7 separate regions of the Homo sapiens genome follow, and regions 1, 2, 3, 4, 6 and 7 are each linked to region 5. The links are contacts of gene promoters, found by promoter capture Hi-C in blood cells and fetal thymus (Javierre and others, 2016). All regions are on one chromosome and are shown on one strand. Each heading gives the region's core, a stretch centred on a gene start or on the middle of the fragment in contact. The rest is flanking DNA. Distances are from core to core; before and after follow the strand shown.

Region 1 (2,700 bases), core at 123-2,622, 780 kb before region 5:
AAACAGTTATTATTTGTTATGTCCTGTGCTACCCATGAGAGTCATTTAGCTTGGGCAAAACTTTTAACTTCTCTTTGCTACATTTTTTCCTTTCACAAACTAAACACAATTTTGTGATAATTAAATGAAGAAATGACACTCCAACATCTGGACATAAAATAGAATAATCAAAATTAGGGGCACAATGAAAAGAGCTAAGAGATTTCAGAAGCTGAAGATGTAGAGGGATGGGCATAGGGAAATGTTTTGTAGAAGAACTGTTTTTGTGCTGGACCTTGGAAATAGTTTGGTCATGTCAAGATGGGGGAAAGGTACCAATGGAATATGAGTGCTGAGAAACAGGACTGGGGAGTGTAGCTAGTTGGGCTAAAGGATGGTAGGACATAAGCACTGAAAAGGGAAGCTTAAACCAGATTATGGAGAGATTTGGATGCCAAACTAAGAAACATGGATTTTGATTCAGAGATGGTATTTGATAAAATTGTCTTCAAGAGCTAAGTTAGATTTTCCTCTCTATGAGCTGAACTAAAGCAACCTGTCACAGGGTGTGCAGGGGTTATCTGGCACAATTCTGATCCACAGTGATTCTTCTTATGACCTATTTAGCTTGGGAGAGATGTGCCAGGAAGAAATACATTTCTTTCTCTCATTACCCAAGGATAAGTTCTCACTGTGGCAAGACCCCTGGGTTGGGAGATGATTCTACATCATGTTTATTAGGTCCCATTAACACTACACCATATTAGTTGTTATACAAAGCACTTCCAGCAAGGCTGGTTTACAGAAATGTCAAGTCCCTGCTATTATCCACATGAAGACCCTCCTTCCTGGCCCTGCACACAATCACTGCCTTTCTGTGAGTAAGCAGATGCTATGACTGGGCTTTGTGCTATGACTTTCCCTTGCTGGAGCACAACAGCAGATTAGGTTAGCAGTCTTATTGGCCCTGCAGAAGATAAGAATCCAGACACAGACTCATAGTAAAACGCCATAGCGCCCAATTGTCTTTGCCTTGGCTGATTTAAGGCTATTGACCCACTTTGTCCCCATTTTATAGGAACATGAATTTATTGTTGATCTTCCATGTGGACATATGCTTTTCTCTTATAATCAAGGTGACATAAATCCCAAAGAGAGTGAAATTTATTCTTTTAAGAGAAGTTATAGAAATTATAATATAACTTTCCATGAACTAATCTGCAATTCTAATTTGCAGACAGGAAATATTAGATGACATCGTCAGTCTTCCAGCCAAGGGACAATTATTCAATGTTTACTTCAAAGCTTGGTTGACTACAGGCTTTAAACAATTGCACAGCCATCAAACATTCTGTGCTGAGGACTGTGTCCCTTTCTGTCACTATTGATGGATTTCTCTGTCAGCATCAAGATTTGCTTGTGCCAGACCCTAAGGTAGAGGCTGGTAATTTCATGATGACTTCCAGGCCCTGTGTGATATAGTAAGCTTTCAGCAGAGGTAGCTCTTAGGCTGGAGAACTATAGAGTAATGAATATACTTGACATTCAACAAATATTTCTGGGTAACTACCATAAGCCAAACATTTAAGTGCTAAACCATATTGTAATGGCCTATGAAATTTGGATTCCTTTTTAAAGTCAAATATTCACATATAAATACCTTTTTAAACAGAATCATAGATTTAGAAGTGGTTTTAATATTCATGAGACAGCATTCACCACGAGGCATTCCCTGCCTACCCACCTCTCTATCCAATATTGCAGTTCTAGCCTGAGAACTCTCTCTCCAGTCCATATATCCTGGATTTTGTTCAATTCTTCATAGATACCAAGAAATGGCCTTCCTCAAATCTTGCACATTGTTTCTTTTCCTGGAGTGCTCTTGCCTATCTGCCTTCTACCAGCTACACCAGCTAACCCCTATTCTACATTTAGGCTGCAGCTTTACTGCAGCTCCCCTGAGGAAGCATTCCCTGATCTCCCAAGACTCATATCTCTTTAATGTATGTTCTTTGATCCCCTTGTTTTATATTCTTAAATATTTTTTCCTCTTTCAGAACTTTATACACCTATAACAATTTGTTTTAAATCTGCCATCTGCATTAGACTATTATCTCCATGAGAGCAGATGCTTTGCTTGCAGAACTATCTCAGTTATAGCATATAGCAGATTTTCAAAAGCTATTTAATGTTTGGAGAGATCATCTTGCTTAAGCCTCCTTTCACATCAGAACACTGAAGCTCAGAGATGATACACAGCTTTTCCATGGAACATGGTTAGGATCCAAATTGATACTAAATTTCCTGACAGCTAGTCCTATGCCTACACTATTTCAATCATGGTGCCAGAGCAGGCACCTATGGGGCTGTGAAAAATGTTCCTCTGGGTAGGAGAGGTAGCACATGTAGTATTCTGCATATATGTTCTTGCCTTCCAGCCAACCCAAATTTAAAAATAAATATTTTGGCATATTTTCAGATTTACAAAAATTTGTCAGTATGATACAAAGAATGATCATATACTCTTTACCCAGATTCTCTAAGTGTTAACATTTATTTTTTATTTAAACATTTATTTTTTATGTCTATCTACTATCTATCTATCTATCATCTATTTATCTATCTATCTATCTGCTATAGTCTGAATGTTTCTGTTCCCCACCTCCTCCAAATTCATATGTTGAATGCTATTCACCGAGGTGATGATGTAAGTAGATGGAG
Region 2 (2,700 bases), core at 95-2,594, 970 kb before region 5:
CAGCAATTGCCTGCGAGACCTCTGAACTACAAAGTTTACCCAGCTGGTGAAATTTATTCCTAGGAAATTTGAAAATAATCTCTCATTTCACAGCAACTGAAGACAATGTTTTAAAAAATTTTTTTTAATATAATCTCTGCCATTTCTGGTTTTCATTCAAATGGAAAGGGGGTTTCTCTCTGAGGGATTTCATTAGAAAGAGAAGGAAGAGCTCCTCTTTCCAAGCCTCACCCTGTTAATTTCCAGTTCCTTAAAATTCAGAGAACTCTGGCTTGTTGTGTCTTTGTTTCTGGGTCTCAGAATCTTGGTGGTAAAAGACAGCCTGGTTTACTGTTGAAGAGAACGGGAGGGTTAGGGAGTTTGAGAGGCACATCCCTCAGTTCTCAAGCAAAGCCTTCTGAAGAGTGACTGAATGCTTCTCACTTAGTTTTTATTTATAAGTCTAAATGGATGAATGCGTGGAGTGAACCCTTCCATTTGTTTTAAGAATTGATCCATAAAGCACAACTAACTAGCTCATTTTTTTTCTGACTTGTCTGCCGGGAAAGTGCTGATCTGAGTCTGCTCTTCTTATTTTCCTTAACCCATAAAAAATGTCAAATGAAATGGATACATAGCTATGATTTCATTTCCATTATGCATTCATTACAGTTGAGATAAGGTGGAAACTTGGGGCTTATTTATTCTAGAGTCTGTCGCAGATCATATCTCACCCTCTGCTCCCCACCTCATAGTAATCTCAGTGCAGCTCTGTGTAGTACATGTCAGTGGGCTGTGTACTCCAATGACCCAGAGGACATCACATACATAGATGTCATTGTGGATAGTTTGATAAAGATTTCTAAATGGCAAATATCTAGGTAAAAAAAAGCAAGAGCAAGACAAATAAATGAAAAAGAACAAAAACAAAACAGTCCAGAGAACCATAAACTATTAATGTACATTGTACTTAGGCAAAAGACTGTGTTCTAGTTTTAGATTTACTTTGGCCTTTTTTTTAGCCCTACTTCTGCTTCCTTTACCAAAGTAATTTACTTTACCAAAGCTATTCTCAGACTTTCGGATAACCTAGTCATTGGATTTTATAGACTATTCCTGAATATGCTTTCCAAGGAATGTCTTTAAATAGAAGACAGGTGTTATGTAGTCAACACATATGGAGCTGGGCTGTATTAGGCACCTGCTTTGTGTGATCCTAAGCCTGGTGTACCCATCAGGACAGTGACTCCAAAGGTGGAAACTCTCACCAGATTCAGATGGTCCTCAATAAACTCTGGACCTCAGACAGACACCAGCTTTATTGAAAAGTTAATGTAAATTCATTTTTATGTATTAAAGAGATATACGATATGATTTGGATATTTGTTCCCTACAAATTTCATGTTGAAATATGATCCCCAGTGTTGGAGGTGGGGCTACGGGGAGGTGTTTGGGTCATGCGGACAGATCCTTCAGGAAGGGCTTGGTGCCTTCCCTGTAGTAATAACTGAGTTATTGCTTTATTAGTTCACACAAGAGCTGGTTGTTTCAAGAGAGCCTGGAACCTCCTCTCCCCTTCTCTCTTGCTCCCTCTCTTAGCATATGACACACTTGCTTCTCCTTCACCTTCCACCATGAGTGAACACTTCCTGAGGCCTCATGAGAAGCAGATGCTGGAACTATGCTGTCTGTACAGCCTGCACAACAGTGAGCCAGATAAGCCTCTTTTCTTTATAAATTTCCCAGTCTCAGGTATTCCTGTATAGAAATGCAAAATGGACGAATGCAATATATTTACATGTGTATTTATGTAAATACTATATATATATACACATTTTAAATGTACATTTAATCTCCCCATACAGCAAATTTAAATCCTAATATATGAGTATGATTTAAAGCCATTGGTTTTCATACCATGTACCACCATGTCCAACTGAGTGGCTTTATGGGCTGAGGGAGACCTGAAAAGGTGGATTTCATGGCTCTTTTCCATAGTAGATTAGATCCTCTTTTGTCTGTTTATACTGGGCCTGTAAATGAGGTTTGGTTGGAAGAGTTCTTTAGCTCAAAATTTAAAAACCACTGATGTAAAAGGTCATTCTGGCATGAACCACCAATCTCTTCTACCTAGGACATTGATGAAAGCCTTCTTCCTAGAATGGTTAGGGTTAAGAGCACACTTTTGATTCTAGTTCTGATACTGGTCCTGATTCTCTTCTTGTGTTGCACTCTCTCTTGCTAACTGCCCTTTGTGATGGCACAAGTTCTCTGCACTTGAGAAACTTCTCTAATAACTGAAGGATAAACTGGATGTTTTCTAAAATGTTTTCCAAAGCCACAGTTTTCCTTTATGCAAAAAGTCTGTAATAGAAATAGACTGTCATCAAACAACAAATCTGGGGTAATGATTTAATTTGAATTTTTAGTTCGTAGCTTTCTTTTTACTTTCTGGCACCCTAGTCTTTTGTTAAGACTATCTTTACATTGAATTACATTCCCTTTCTGAATATGAAAATACTAAATGGCAATTCTAGAACTGTTGGACAATACAGAATATCATAATAGACCACTCTTAGAGTTTATTTTGATGTTATCTTTTTGTCTTCTTGGTATTATCTTTGACTCTGAAAGTGTTTGCTTTCACTCTCTGAATTTACTTTTCAAATTTCCTTTCTTGATTCTTGTTTAAATGGCATTATTTTTTCCTACGTAATTGGA
Region 3 (2,700 bases), core at 146-2,645, 860 kb before region 5:
GTACTAAGTTGTGAAAATATAGAACTCAAAGGAGATTGGTGAAAAATGCATTGTAATTTTTCAAAGCATTTCTCTTAAGCAGTAAAATAGAGGCTTTTTTTCAGAAGACAATCTGTTAGAATTTTGCCACCACAGCTCCACTGCTGATGAAATAGAACCTGGGTATCACAGGAATGCTATGGAAGCCAATGTAAACCACACAGCCAACTCCTCTGGGAATGACTTATATTACTGCTTGGGCCAATTTTAAAGAAAATCCTGTGTCAGCACTTTCTGTGATGGTCACTGGGCCTTGCAGAGCTGCCTCATTTGGAACAGACTGCTTCAGGGTATATTAATGTCAGGACACACTGCTTCTCATTATAGCTCCCACCAATCCAGGTGCCAAGGCCAAGATATACTAGAACGTGAATACAGGGCCCACTTGGCAAGAAATACATGTTGTCAGAGCAGAGGTCTAAGACTACACTGTCTTTGGGTGAGAATGGGTGGTCTGACTTGAATGGGACTTGAATGGGACTTGGCATCACTACATGCAAAGTTATTAACTACCTGGAGCCATAAGTGGGAATATGATGTGTTTGATAACAAATATGTTAAAATGTACCATTTGTTTTTATGTATAATTTTTTAAGGTCCATTTCCTGATTTTTTTTTTCTTTAAATAAATGAAATGGAAAGCTTTTCACTCAAGGATAACTTCAACCTTTCTAAACATGATTCTTGTCCATTTCATATCTGGTCTTTATTATCAGGCCAATCACCCATGCATTATGAACCCATGAAATTATGAAGGCAGGTCATGAATATACTCTGATGTTCATGGACATTGGGTTTATAAAATCTCACTTATCTCCTCCTGCATGGTTACCACTATGATCTTAGCACAGCTCCACCCCAATTTCTTTGCTATTATGACTTAAATTTGAAAATGCCTCTGGCTTGAGTGTTGTCCTAGATATGTGGATCTGAGGCATCTATACAAGTGGGGTGCCCAGCTGGAAAGTGTAGCCATATACTTTCAGTTCAGGAAAGAGATCTGAGCTGAAAATATGAAATTGAGATTAATCAGCACTAGATAGTTATTGAGAGTATTGAAGTAAACGAGGCAACCTAGGGCCTGAGTATAATGAGAAGGGTGTCTGAGGAAACTTTGAGAAACATTTAAAGGACTTAGCATGAGAAGATTGAAGGTCATCCTGAGAAAGGTCTCTCTGTTTCTTCCTAATGAGATGTACACTGAGAGCTGTTCTTCTGCTTGCTTTGTTAATGTGGCATTGACGACTTTTACCTCCTTTGTCCTTAACCACAGCTTTAGATTGAGTCATGTTGAATTTGTCAATAACTCTTGTTGACATATTTTTTTAGTCTATAGATAGACAGTTTTCTCTTTACTGGCCAATTCAGTCATTTGACTGGACTTCAACTAGTATTTTTTGAGATCTTCCTTAGAGGTTTGTAGTCAGTAGCAGTTAAAAGGACTTTAAATGTGAAAGTTTAAATTTGTCATATGAGAAAACCTGTGGTCCTCAACCAGGGGTGATTTTGCCCTGCATGGGACATTTGTCCAGGCCTGAGACATTTTTTATTTTCGCCACTGTTTATGTGGGGATGCTACTGGCATCTGGTGATGAGAAACCGGGGATGCTGCTAAGTATCTTCCAATGCACAGGATAGCCACCCCCAACAGCAAAGAATTAGCTGGTCTAAAGTGTCAGTAGCGCACAAGAAACCAAGGTGTAAAAAGGTGATACTCAAAGATTTTTAAGCAAGGAAGTTGTATTCCCAGGTTCATATTTTAAAGACCACTCTACTGTAAGGAAAATAGATGGGTGGTAGAGGTGGGAAGGGAGAAGAATGGAAACCAGGTAGGATGCTGTGGTGGTCTCCTAGACAGGAGCTGTTAGTTACCTGAGTTATTGTGGTGGGAGCGAAGATGGAGAGAAGCAGATGGAATCAAAATATGTTTTGGGGGAAGAAATGTTAGGACTTGTCAGTGATTGAATATTAGTATTAAAGCAGGGGAATAAATCATTCTGAACCGTCAAATTTCTGTCTTGAGAATCTAGGGAATGCTTATTTAATGACTTGAGGAAAATGGGCAAGAAGTAAGCTTGGGGGCTGAGTTAAGTTTCAAGTCTATTAAGTTTGAGATCCTGTGTGAATTTCAAATGAAGCAGGCAGCTGGATTTATATGAGTTAGAAAGTCAGAACATTTAGAATGTGGCTGCACACACCATATTTCTATGTTGTCAAAGAAGATATAACATGGTTGAGAGGTACATACCTTGAGTAAGAGCTGGTTTCTAGCTCTGCCACTTACTTGCATAAATCTAAGCAATTTACTACTCCTCTATGAAAATACCAGTTCCCCTGTGAATGAAAGAAATGTATTAAACTAGGTAAGGTTTTTCAACCAATTCATCGCCAGCAATACCTTCTATTAATTTTCTCTCATTGAGCCCATGTTTAAAATTTTTTAATCATCTTAATGTACTACATTCATCATGAAACAATATATTAATTTTATCTGTGCCATCAATGTTTTTTCATTTTAATGTTGGTTCAGATTTTAAAGGCTTGTTAATTATGGCTTATTGGCTATAATAATAAGGGATCCGAGAAATGAAGTTCAAATGCCGACATATGTTAGAACGGCTGACTGCTACTGATAATTAACTTCTGCTCTTTTTCATTTCA
Region 4 (2,700 bases), core at 183-2,682, 820 kb before region 5:
ATGTATCAGTTTGTCCAGGTTTTGGGATGTGGAAATATGGACACCATAGACATTGGGATTAGGAAGTGAATTTTCTTACCATGCATTTCTTGTTATGCCTAGGAAATATTTTTTCCTCCTGCCTCAAAGGCAGATGAGAGCTCTACCTTCTCTTTGTCAATTTTTTTTTTTTTGCTACTAACCACTACTTGATTACCTTTACTTACTGAATCAGCCTCTTGTGTCTCTCAGCTCCAACATCATAAACCATCATGTTATTTTGATATTAAATAGATCTTCCTTTTTAAAGCGGGGGAAGAGATTAAGATGTTAAGTGAAAAGGAGAACCAACCATACTCCCTTCTTAGGATTAGACCAAAATTCTTCTTATGTCATGTTATCTAATTCCAATATCCAGCAAGCAGCTGGGGAAAATTTATTTGGATATTGTGCATTTTTCCTTTTTTTGGAAGAATAGATTTTGTTCCTCTATTTGATAAAAGACAGAAACTGTACATCTTGAAAATAAAGGCATTGGCATTTTAAAGTGATCAGGAGTTCTTGCAGAATTCCAAACATGCATCTTCTGGAAAAAGAAACCCTGTAAAGATAGAGATAAAACGTAGGTTTTTCATTTGCCCCATACTGTATGCATATGAATGTTTTACTTTTCTGTTTGATCTTTAACTGGTTGGGGAGAGGACCTGTTGTTTTTCTTCCCTATTCCCCAAATCACTTCTCTGCTTTCTCAGTCTCTCATCAGTGTTCATGACACCTCAGACCTGGGCAATTGGATTCTTGCCCAGGGTCCTGCACTTCAGAGGGGTCCATTCTATTCTTCCTCTAGCTTTGCCATTCGTCAAGCGGGGAGGAGTCTGAATGGCAAAAGGGATGCCCCCATCCAGGGTCTGCATCTCTCCCAGCTCCACTTTCAGCATGTGAGACCCCAGGAAGCCCTGAGCTTTCAACCCTAGGCCACAGGGTTGGCTGAGGGGCAGCTATTTGAGAGGATGGGTATATTCATACCTGACTATACCCACAAGTATCCACATGACACCCCTCATATGTAGGACAGTGAGGGAGGGTAGGAAAAACAGAGCATTTGAAAGTGTCTATTTATATTTATATCCTAGGACCCATAAATGTTAGAGGCCTGCCCTGTTTGACAGCTAGTCATAATCCTTTTTTACAGCTGCAGAAATGGAGAAAACTGGGGGACTAGTCTCCAGTTATAGAGAGGCATGGGCCAGAGACACGACTAGAACTCTGGTTATTGCCATGGCCGGCTGCTCCCCTCACTGGAAAATATTTACCAGCTGTAGAGGGCTAAGCTTTTCCTCAGAAGCTTTGCTTCTCTGGAAAAATAAAGAGAAAAATTCTTGCCCCTTACTCTGGAAAAAGGTGCTGTAAAAACTAAAGATATTATAGTGTAATCCTCAGAACACTAATCCTAGAGGTCAGAGAGCAGAAACCTGAATCACAGGTTCTGCTGGCTTGCTCAAATGCCATGTTTAGCATCCAAATTCTCTATAATTGATAGGTCAGTAGTAGCTTAAAGATTATAAGCTTTTGTAAATGGGTGACTAGCTCCTGAAGAAAGCCACAAATTTCACCTGATAATACCCAAGTAAAATAGTTACTGTGAGTTTTAGAAATGTTGCCAGAAATAAATTGAAGAGTTTTATGTCTTGAAATTTGGTGCTGTTAATTTCTTTTCAGCTGTCACTGCTAAATCCCCTGTTAACTGAAACACCTTCCAAAGTTCTCTTTAGGTTAACTCGGTATTCTAGGCAATCTATAACTGGCATCTTCTTGCTCCTGAATCACATTTCAGAGCAGACTTCACACAAAAAAGATGATGATGTTAGGTGATCTTCAGTTAATAGTCCCTTTAAATTTACTATCTTCTTGGTATCTCAGTTTGCTGGTTTCTTGAAGATTTTCTATTTAAAGAATGAGCAAATAATCTAGAATAGCGAAGACATATGCTCTGTGAAATATAGTCTTTGCTTCATCTAAATAGAAATAGCCATGCATTCTGTTCTATGTCTCACTCCCTTGACAAAGTTGGACTAATAAAAATTCAGTTCCAGAGACTATGTATATATCCTGTGCATGTATAGGCAATTAAGCAAATATTTGCCCCAGAAATTATTTATTATTGGAAATCTATATTTACTTAAATGAGCAGATCATAGATACTAGATTCAATAATATCAATTCCACTGGCTTTGTGATCTTATATCACTCGACCTTAGCTGCCTTCAGTTTCTTCATATATAAAATAGTGACTGATAGTCCCTGTCCTATAGTTTTTAAAAAATATCAGATGAGATTCTGTATGTAAAATGCTTATTATAATACCAGGTACAAAGTAAGCCCTCAGTAATTCATAGTTATTTGCTTCAGTAAACAAATCTTTGACACAGAGTGCACTGCTGAAAAATAAGAAGGCTTCTTGGTGACCGCAAGGTTAGGGACTACTGGATTCAATAACATCACATATGTCCTTTGATTCATATGTACATATTTAGGTGCTTAAAGTGGAAAAATTCATAAATCATTATAATTCTCACTGATTCTTTCTGCCTATTTCCAGATGACTTCTTGGCAGTCATTTGCAGACTAAGGTAGCTTTGAAGGTGAAGATTCTTTGTGTTCATTCTCATCCTGATGTAAAAATACTACCTGAGACTGGATAATTTATAAACAAAAGAGGTT
Region 5 (2,700 bases), core at 104-2,603:
CCCTCTGAGCTGGATGCCTCTTTCCTTTACCTCCACTGTCCCTGTCCATAATCCTGTCTTTCTTAGGCATTATCACTTTGATCTGAAATGTTCTGTGGGCGCAGCAGCCTCTCTACTTGGCTTTAAGTGCTGCAGGGAGCTTATTCACTCTTGCATCCTCATCTCTTAGCACAATGCCTGGCATAATGTCAGTGCTCAGCAAGTGTTAATAATACGTCCTGTCCTTCCAATGTCCAGTAGTTATTTCAGTAACTAAATCCTCTTTTTTAAAACCACCTTATGCAAAGTTAATCCTCTGTGGTTCAAAAAGTTCCAAGACAACTTAAAAGACAAATTTTCCATTACTTTGTCATCTCATCTGTCGAATTCATCTGTAATTTGTCTAATTCAGCATCTCCCACTGTGTGTGTTCCCATGAGTTGGACTCCAAGAGATGCTCTTGGTAAGCGTATCTATGTGGGAAACATGTTACTCAATCTAGCAAGGCAGCCAGTGCAGTGGTTTAGCACACAGGTGCTGGGGGCAAACTGCAGGCTCTGTCGGGCAAGTGATCATTCTGTGTGCTTCTGTTTCCTCTTCTGTAAAATAGGACTAATAACAGTTTTTCTCCCTCACAGGGTTGTTGCCAAGATTTGCTGAGTATTACACAAAAGGTTTGGAGTACTTAGTGCTAGGAACATACTGACTACTATTATTAAGCAAAGTTAAACAATTTCTTTTTCTTATTTGGTTTTATTTTGTTTGCTGGCTGTAAGACTGCTGAGAGCCTTTAGCATGCTGATGTACCCATGAATCTCCAGGGAAGCAGTATTCCCCACATTTACTTGATGGAAGAGCTGCTAGCATATCTCAGGGGTAATGGGCCTCAAAACATACCTTAGGAAATTCCTATTTATAAATTTAAAAGAACGTTAACATTTTCCAAACCCAAATTGGGACACTGATTTGACCTGTATGGCTATAACTTGGGAGCATTGGTACATAATATTAATATTTGAAGAGAGGACTGGTCTAGCAACACAAGTAAATAATAATAATAATAATAAAAGCCCAAGACCTATGTGTTACTACAATTAAAATATTTCTTTTTTTAAAAAATCAAAGTACAAGTGAAGTGACTTTTATTGATATTAAAGTGGGAACTGCAAATATGGCCCAAATAAAAAACCATGTAGGCTTTACGTATTATTTTCTGACACAGTTAAAAAACTATTACTTGACAAAGATGAAGGGCCAGACTTCCTTATTCAAAACCTCACGCCATTTATCTTAATTCTGCTGCATCTGATACTGACTTCCTCTAGAGCCAGGAAACTTTGCAAGTATTAAATAGCGTGAACGAAGGAGGGAAAGAAGGAAGTAACCCACCAAAGTGAAAAAGAGGAACAAGTTCTAACCCAATGCAGGTTTAAAACATAACCAAAAGAACAAAAGAGAGAGCTTGACACACCAATCTTGAGGTAAGTAAGAACCTGATTTAAGGTATTTGGATGATTAAACACTATAAGAAACAAGTTTGTCTTTAATTAATCAATGATTTTTATCTTACTACAGTTTTTAGAAAAAAATGCCTTACGTAGCTGTAAGGGGGAAACCCAATTTACAAACTGAGAGTGATGTTAATGTTTCTTTACAATATGATTATGCTTTGCTGTTACCTTGTTTCCAAACAGCAGGGCATTCTCTTACTTGAAAATTCCTGAAGTTTCTCAACAATTTGCGATTTTAAGAAAAATGTCAAATTGTTAGGTAACCTGTTGGAACTGCTTTCCAAAATGAAAACAGAGTCTTCTTTCAAACTGGTCAAAGTGAACATTATTTAAGTGTTAAACTATATTTGAATGGTTATTGTTTAAAATATGTTTTTCATTATAGTAGGTCTTTGTTCATGTCTCACAGGTTTTTTCCTCTAATGTTATTTCGAAGAAAATGATGCATTTCTTTTTCTGTAAAAAGTCTTCTTGTCTTTATCTTGGTAAATATCTCTTAGACAAACAATTTTAATATTTTGGATGTACCAGAATTTCTACTCTACATAGAATAACATAGATGGTAAAAATGCCTTTTCTTCTTAAAAATTAAGAGAGTAATTTATTGCCTTATCCTCAGCTACAGAAGTGACAATAGTTAGCCTTCCTCAACCCTCACCGTGACTTCTGTTGCAGGCCTAGTATCTTTCAAAAAGTTGATTAATTTCAATCAATACTTAAAGTGTATTTTGTAAATTTATTTCAAATATTCTGGCAAATAACTTCTTAAATCATTAACCATGTATACCATAAAATATCTTGCAGATAATTGGTGCTCATCTGTTTCAGACAGGAAATGAGGTCCTAATGATTAAAGTCATTTGGCTAAACTTTTGTCCTTGAACACAAGCACGGCTGGCCTTATAAAGGAGGGACCCTGCAGATTGTAAATCTTATGTGGCGGACCATACAGTTCTCAACCTCAATATTACTCCCAAAAATTCCAAGGAGATTAAAATGTTTCTGCATCTGGGGTGCTTGTCCCTGTATTTTTATCAAAAAATTGTATAAATTAGCTGCACATCTTATTTAATTTTCTTTTATGAAATGTCAAATTAAATATTTGCATATTAATATATTCTAACCTTGGACAAATTTATGAACGTTCATTACCATTAAACTTTTCATGAAAACTCACTGAAAGCAGAGCACCACTTTGTGAATTTCTATT
Region 6 (2,700 bases), core at 122-2,621, 900 kb before region 5:
CTCTCTCATTTTGTCTTAACATCCCAGAAATGTTGCCTGACTTAATCATTTTAGGTCTTTTAATTGTTTGGTTATACTTCTTTGGAATAGTTACTATTATTGCTTTGAAACTTCTATCACCATTTTAGATTTTCTTCTATGCTAGTTTTATGTAAACAATGAGTATAAGTGGACATATGTTATCTTTTTGTTTTGCATGAATGATTTGAAGCTTTCATATCTGAATTCAAAAATTGTTCAGACATCAAATCATTTCTAAGTAATGGAGTAACTACGGGGGTCCCTCCACCTGGGTGATGAGCGGCTGTTTTTAAAAGGGTAAATGTCATCTAAACTGCCCTTTCCCTCTCTCTGCCCTTCATGAATCCCTAATCCTGACTCTGACACTTCTCTTCCATGGCACATCTAACAAAATGCAGATTATTTTCTAAATGTTGCACCTGAGTGGAAACTGCGTGTACACACTGGTTAAATTTAACCAATGTCTGGGTCAGCACACTTTGATTGCGTGTGTGCTGAGCAGAATGTTGGGGTATGTTGGATAAGGAAAGAGCTTATTCCATTAGTATTTTAGTAAGATCACACAGCTTATTTTATCTTATTTTATTTTATTTTTTATTTGATTTTATTTTACACCTGTGCTACAATTATTAGTGCAGTAGGCTGGCCTACCCCTCAGGAATATTGAGGACATCTGACTGTTAATTTCTATATGAAGAGAAAAAGAGGTGGCTCTGCATAAGATTATCCTAAAGTTCAGTAATCAAGTGCCCTGGGGATGCTCTTCTGTCCTCTTAGTCACTGCTCGCTCCCTCAAGCACCTGTTGTTTTTGTGTTCCCACTGAACTCTAAGTTCTAAAAAATCTGGGATCCCCCCAGCTTAGAGTATCTTTTCCAAGACTTTACTTCCCTTCTCACTCCTTGGCTTCTTAAAATTTGTCTCTTTCTGGCATTATTCCCTCCCCATATATTAGTCCCCTGGACTATAGCCTAGAAGCCTAATTATAAGGATCTAGTGGGTGTAGAATCATGGGATACTAGAGTTGGAAGAAACATCAGAGATTATTCTAGCCCAGCCACTGAACAGATGAGAATTAGTCTTGGAGATATAAGGTGAATTGCCATGCTGGATCTTCACGCCAGGACGCCTCCGTTGAACCAGTTTATGTTAATCTTTCCATATTGAAAATGCCTTTATTTGCATTTTAACTGGGCCTTCAAGTGCTTAGACCAGTGTTTCCTAAACTTGGCTAATCATTGAAATCACCCCCATCATGGTTCTGATTCTCTAAGCCTGAGCTGGGAATAGGAAACTATACTATTAACAGGCGCAGGTAATTGTAATAATTAGCATATGTTGGAAAACTGCATTAAACGCAATGGCTGACTTAGTAGCATTGTAAATTCCAGCTACTAAGTAAGGCTAATGGACTGTGTAGTTTTAGGCAATTGAGTTTTTCTAGCTCAAATCAGTCCACTCAAGGAGGCCGGTGTTGATTGTAAAGCAGAAGGAACTCTCCCTTATTGAAAACCGGAAGTGCAGAAACAGTCCTTCAAACTCAGAAGACTCAAAATTAGTATTTGTTGACATAGAAAATATTAACATAATCATGAAACTCGGTGAAAAATAAATGTCTTTCTGGGTGGCAGTAGAATCCCTGATAAAGAAGGGCCTATCTTTGTTTAGGACCATAAACTGGTAAAGGCATTTCAGAGAGAAGGAGACAAGGAAACTAGAGAGATTGCTAAATCACTCTCCATTAGAAAAGAATGGGAATTTGAGTCTGGGGAAGAACAGAGCAAAGAGGAGAGGAGAGAAGAGGAAGAGGAAGAGGAAGAGGAAAAGACTAAACAATATAGTGACATGACAACAACCATATTGGACATCGTGCTTTATGTTTCATCTTTGGTTGTTTGTGTTGCTGCAGTATTAACACTTTTTTCCTCCTCAGACCTTTAGCAAAGTCAGCTTCATCCACAAAGGCATTGTATTGCTTTTTTGGACAAGAAATAAGATGTACATCTAAATTCATATATGCAGAACCATCACAAAACATGTAGGACTGCAAGTAGATCAAACCAATTCAATGAGAGAAAGAGCTTGGATTGAGGGTATACATGGATTACAAGGTTTCCAGCATCCTGTGTATACAGACCATGCCCTTGTATTTTATGTTTTTTGTCCTGAAGCATGTGTTGACTTTGTCAGGACGCCCTAAACATCTTAGATTCAGCCTTTTCCCAATGAAAGGCAAAACTCCTCTGTCAAACTATTTTTTCAAATTTAACTAGATGTCCTGTATTTTTATTTACTACATCTGGCCACCCTACCAGAGAACCACAAGTGCCCTAGCAAATTTACAGAAATCTTGGCAAGGGCATTGGACTTTCCACAAGTTGTGAATGGGGTTTCAGAAAATCTTATCTAGATTATCTAGGGTGGGACGATTTCAGCTGACGTTGAGGTTGCAATGAAAACTGACCTGTCAAATCCAGTGTCTTCCAACCTTGACTCACAGTAGAGTCATCTGGAAGCTTATAAAAAAATCACGTCAAGACCCCATTGTCAGGATTCTGGTTCATATATGCTGGTATGGGGCCAAGTCTCAGTATTGTTAAAGTTTACCAGCAGATTCTAAAGTGGAAGCTAGGATTGAGAGTCACTGGTCTGGAGGCCACCCTTTATAAAGTCTTAGGCAT
Region 7 (2,700 bases), core at 57-2,556, 940 kb before region 5:
GTAATGACTGGATGTCTTCCTGGGTCTGCAGTGTTTCACCTATTCTTACTCCTGTCACATAGCCTGAAAATATTTTACCATTGTTCTGACTTCAAAGGACTTGACTAATAGGAATACACAACTCGATATTACCCGTTCATTGTGATTCTTAATTTGCAAATAATAATAAATGGAATCTAGGACAGTATCCTCAGTCTGCTTTAGTATGTTCAAGATTAAAGGGGAAAGTTTCCTAAAGTTAATCTTCCAATTCTCAGTGAAAAGAACATTAAAAATAGAGAAAAAGGCCTTTGGGTCAAATGAGTTTTGTGTTTGGCACTGACATAGAGAAACCTGTGAATACATTAAAAGTAGAAGGCACATAAACCCAGTCTACCTGAATTAAAGACATGAATACCAAAAGGCTTTCCTTGGAGATCAGATGCTATGGGTTGAATTGTGTCCCTTCTGTCAAATTCATATTTTGAAGACATATTCCCCAATACGTCAGAATGTGACCTTATTTGGAGATAGGGTCTTTACTGAAGTAGTCAAGTTAAAATGAGGTCATTAGGGTGGGCCTTAATCCAATACGTACGTTATATTTATGATTGGAGAAAACTTGGATGCAGGCACACAGGGAGAATACCATGTGAAGATCAAGGCAGACAGAAACTGGAGTGATGCCTCTATAAGCCAAGGAACACCAAGACCAGCACACAATGAGAAGATAGGGGAGAGGCATAGAATAGATTCTTCCTCACAGCCCTCAGAAAGAACAAACCCTGGTGTCACCTCGATTTTGAATTTCTAGCTTCTAGAAGGGTGAGAGAATAATTTTCTGTTGCGTAAGCCACCCAATTTGTGGTACCTTGTTACGGCGGCCCTAGCAAACTAATACACCAGGAAAGGAGTTAAACCTTGAGATTCTACTTACAGGGGCCAGTGTTATGACTGAAAAGACCACTACTCCCCAGACCTGGGCAAATAAAACTGAAGAAGGAATAGTCTATGGAGTTGTTTCAAATGATGTTCTCATTTAGTGATGTCTGAAATACAGTCTTGCCTATTTACCTCAACTACAGAAAGAAAACTAAGTAAAATTGAGGAGAATGAGCTTTCATTTCACACATCAAAAAATGTGTTTTCTGATTTCCCAGTGAAATTTAGGCTGACTAAAAAAAAAAAAAAGAATTCCTCATGATATTGTCACTCTAATTTTTCTAGGTCACTAGAGCACGGAAAAAAATCTGACTGCTCCACACCTGAATTATACCAGTTTGCATAAACTAATAAAATTACAACTTAACTACTATCGTGAGGAGTTATCCTGTTCGTTATGGTGACAGAAGCTGGGCATGAAGAAGGGAAAATGCTGCCAATCCCCCGGAAAGCCATTAATGTTACTCTGCCAGGGGATCTAAAGGTGTGGGAGAGGATTTTAAATATAGCACCCATCTTAACCACTGTGAATAAGCAACACTACTATAGGTAATAAGAAGAAGCCAACCTTAGACATATGGCTGGGCCTTAAAGGGACGCAGCTGAGAAAACATAGCCCTCGTCAGGTACTTTAATAGGAGGAGTTTAATATGCTAAATTCATAATAAAGGTGTTATTAGAAGAGCTATAACCACTCAAAGATGGGGTCGATGGGAGAAAGGGAGGTGGTAGTGTTTCTAGAGCCTGCGATCTTGGGTAATAAGGATAGGAATTGAGACCACTGAAGAGATATAACAACTGCTGGGCATGGTCCAGAGCAGGAGAGGGGAACTAGCACCCTTGCTTCTGTCTTCCTTCCAGCCTCCAGTGTCTTTCCAGCACTTGTTATGGCAGCCCTAGCAAACTAATACACCAGGATAGGAGTTAGACTTTGGGTAAACCCTTCCCTTAGGATGGCTGGAGGGAGCATACCCCACCCTGGCGTTCCCACTCATCACAGGTCAGCCAGAAGCATTGCTGAGCAGAACTGAAGGCAAGTGGCAAGGAGGTGTGGGAAACATGGTTTGCTGGTGTCGGCTCCTTGGATGATGGAGGCAGGGGAGGAGTATTAGTTTCCTTTTGCTGCTGTAACAAATTACCACAGACTTAATGGCTAAAATCAGCACAGAGTTATTTCCTTATAGTTCTGGAGGTTAGAAGTCTACAATCAAGGTGTTGGCAATGCTGCATTTCTTCCAGAGGCTTCTAAGGAAAATCTGTTTTCTCACCTATGCCAGCTTCTAGAGTCTGTCTGCCTTTCTGGGCTCACTGCCCCTTCCTTCATCTTCAAGATGCATCTCTTTAACTCAGTTTCATGGGCACATCTCCTTTTTTGACTTTGACTCTCTTACCTCTCTCTTGTGATTACATTGGACCCACTAAAATAATCAGGAGAATCTTTCCATTCAAGATTTTGTTTTTATTATACTTTAAGTTGTAGGGTACATGTGCACAATGTGCAGGTTTGTTACATATGTATACATGTGCCGTGTTTGTTTGCTGCACCCATTAACTCATCATTTACATTAGGTGTTTCTCCTAATGCCAACCCAAATGTCCATCAGTGATAGACTGGATTAAGAAAATGTGGCACATATTCTCCATTCAAGATTCTTAACCACATCTCCAAAGTCCCTTTTGCCATGTAAGGTAACATTTTCATAAGAGCCAGAAATGGGGATGCGGACATTTTGGGGGGCCATTATTCTGCCTATCACAGAAGGGAAGGTAACAGACATG

The links. The method cuts DNA at HindIII sites, captures the fragments that hold promoters and counts their contacts. A CHiCAGO score of 5 or more calls a contact.
Region 1: a fragment that was not itself captured here is called in contact with the fragment with the promoter of GAPT in region 5 in 1 of 17 cell types (total CD8 T cells); the score reaches 5.3 in total CD8 T cells.
Region 2: a contact is called between a fragment that was not itself captured here and the fragment with the promoter of GAPT in region 5, in 2 of 17 cell types (non-activated CD4 T cells and total CD4 T cells). The highest score is 6.2, in non-activated CD4 T cells.
Region 3: a fragment that was not itself captured here is called in contact with the fragment with the promoter of GAPT in region 5 in 1 of 17 cell types (naive CD4 T cells); the score reaches 5.4 in naive CD4 T cells.
Region 4: a fragment that was not itself captured here is called in contact with the fragment with the promoter of GAPT in region 5 in 1 of 17 cell types (naive CD4 T cells); the score reaches 6.2 in naive CD4 T cells.
Region 6: a fragment that was not itself captured here is called in contact with the fragment with the promoter of GAPT in region 5 in 1 of 17 cell types (total CD4 T cells); the score reaches 5.1 in total CD4 T cells.
Region 7: a contact is called between a fragment that was not itself captured here and the fragment with the promoter of GAPT in region 5, in 1 of 17 cell types (naive CD8 T cells). The highest score is 5.2, in naive CD8 T cells.

The regions. Positions count from the first base shown.
Region 1 is chr5:57,710,770-57,713,469 of GRCh38, forward strand. No RefSeq gene overlaps it. Among named protein-coding and RNA genes, the nearest start is that of LNCBRM, 140 kb to the left of the region's middle. The HindIII fragment of the contact is 181 bases long and covers 1,283-1,463 here.
Region 2 is chr5:57,524,927-57,527,626 of GRCh38, forward strand. All of the region lies in intron 3 of RMEL3 (enriched in melanoma 3), which reads left to right. Among named protein-coding and RNA genes, the nearest start is that of ACTBL2, 43 kb to the left of the region's middle. The HindIII fragment of the contact is 5,240 bases long and covers 1-2,700 here.
Region 3 is chr5:57,626,650-57,629,349 of GRCh38, forward strand. No RefSeq gene overlaps it. Among named protein-coding and RNA genes, the nearest start is that of LNCBRM, 58 kb to the left of the region's middle. The HindIII fragment of the contact is 1,432 bases long and covers 680-2,111 here.
Region 4 is chr5:57,667,112-57,669,811 of GRCh38, forward strand. It overlaps LOC101928505 (a long non-coding RNA gene), which reads left to right. Exons shown (of 3, transcript NR_104668.1): 3 at 2,579-2,700. Among named protein-coding and RNA genes, the nearest start is that of LNCBRM, 98 kb to the left of the region's middle. The HindIII fragment of the contact is 221 bases long and covers 1,323-1,543 here.
Region 5 is chr5:58,490,082-58,492,781 of GRCh38, forward strand. It overlaps GAPT (GRB2 binding adaptor protein, transmembrane), which reads left to right and starts at 1,354. Exons shown (of 3, transcript NM_001304431.2): 1 at 1,354-1,460. The HindIII fragment of the contact is 6,945 bases long and covers 1-2,700 here.
Region 6 is chr5:57,589,959-57,592,658 of GRCh38, forward strand. All of the region lies in intron 4 of LNCBRM (lncRNA SMARCA2 (BRM) associated), which reads left to right. All of the region lies in intron 1 of LOC124901182 (a long non-coding RNA gene), which reads right to left. Among named protein-coding and RNA genes, the nearest start is that of LNCBRM, 21 kb to the left of the region's middle. The HindIII fragment of the contact is 2,324 bases long and covers 210-2,533 here.
Region 7 is chr5:57,553,223-57,555,922 of GRCh38, forward strand. No RefSeq gene overlaps it. Among named protein-coding and RNA genes, the nearest start is that of LNCBRM, 16 kb to the right of the region's middle. The HindIII fragment of the contact is 4,979 bases long and covers 1-2,700 here.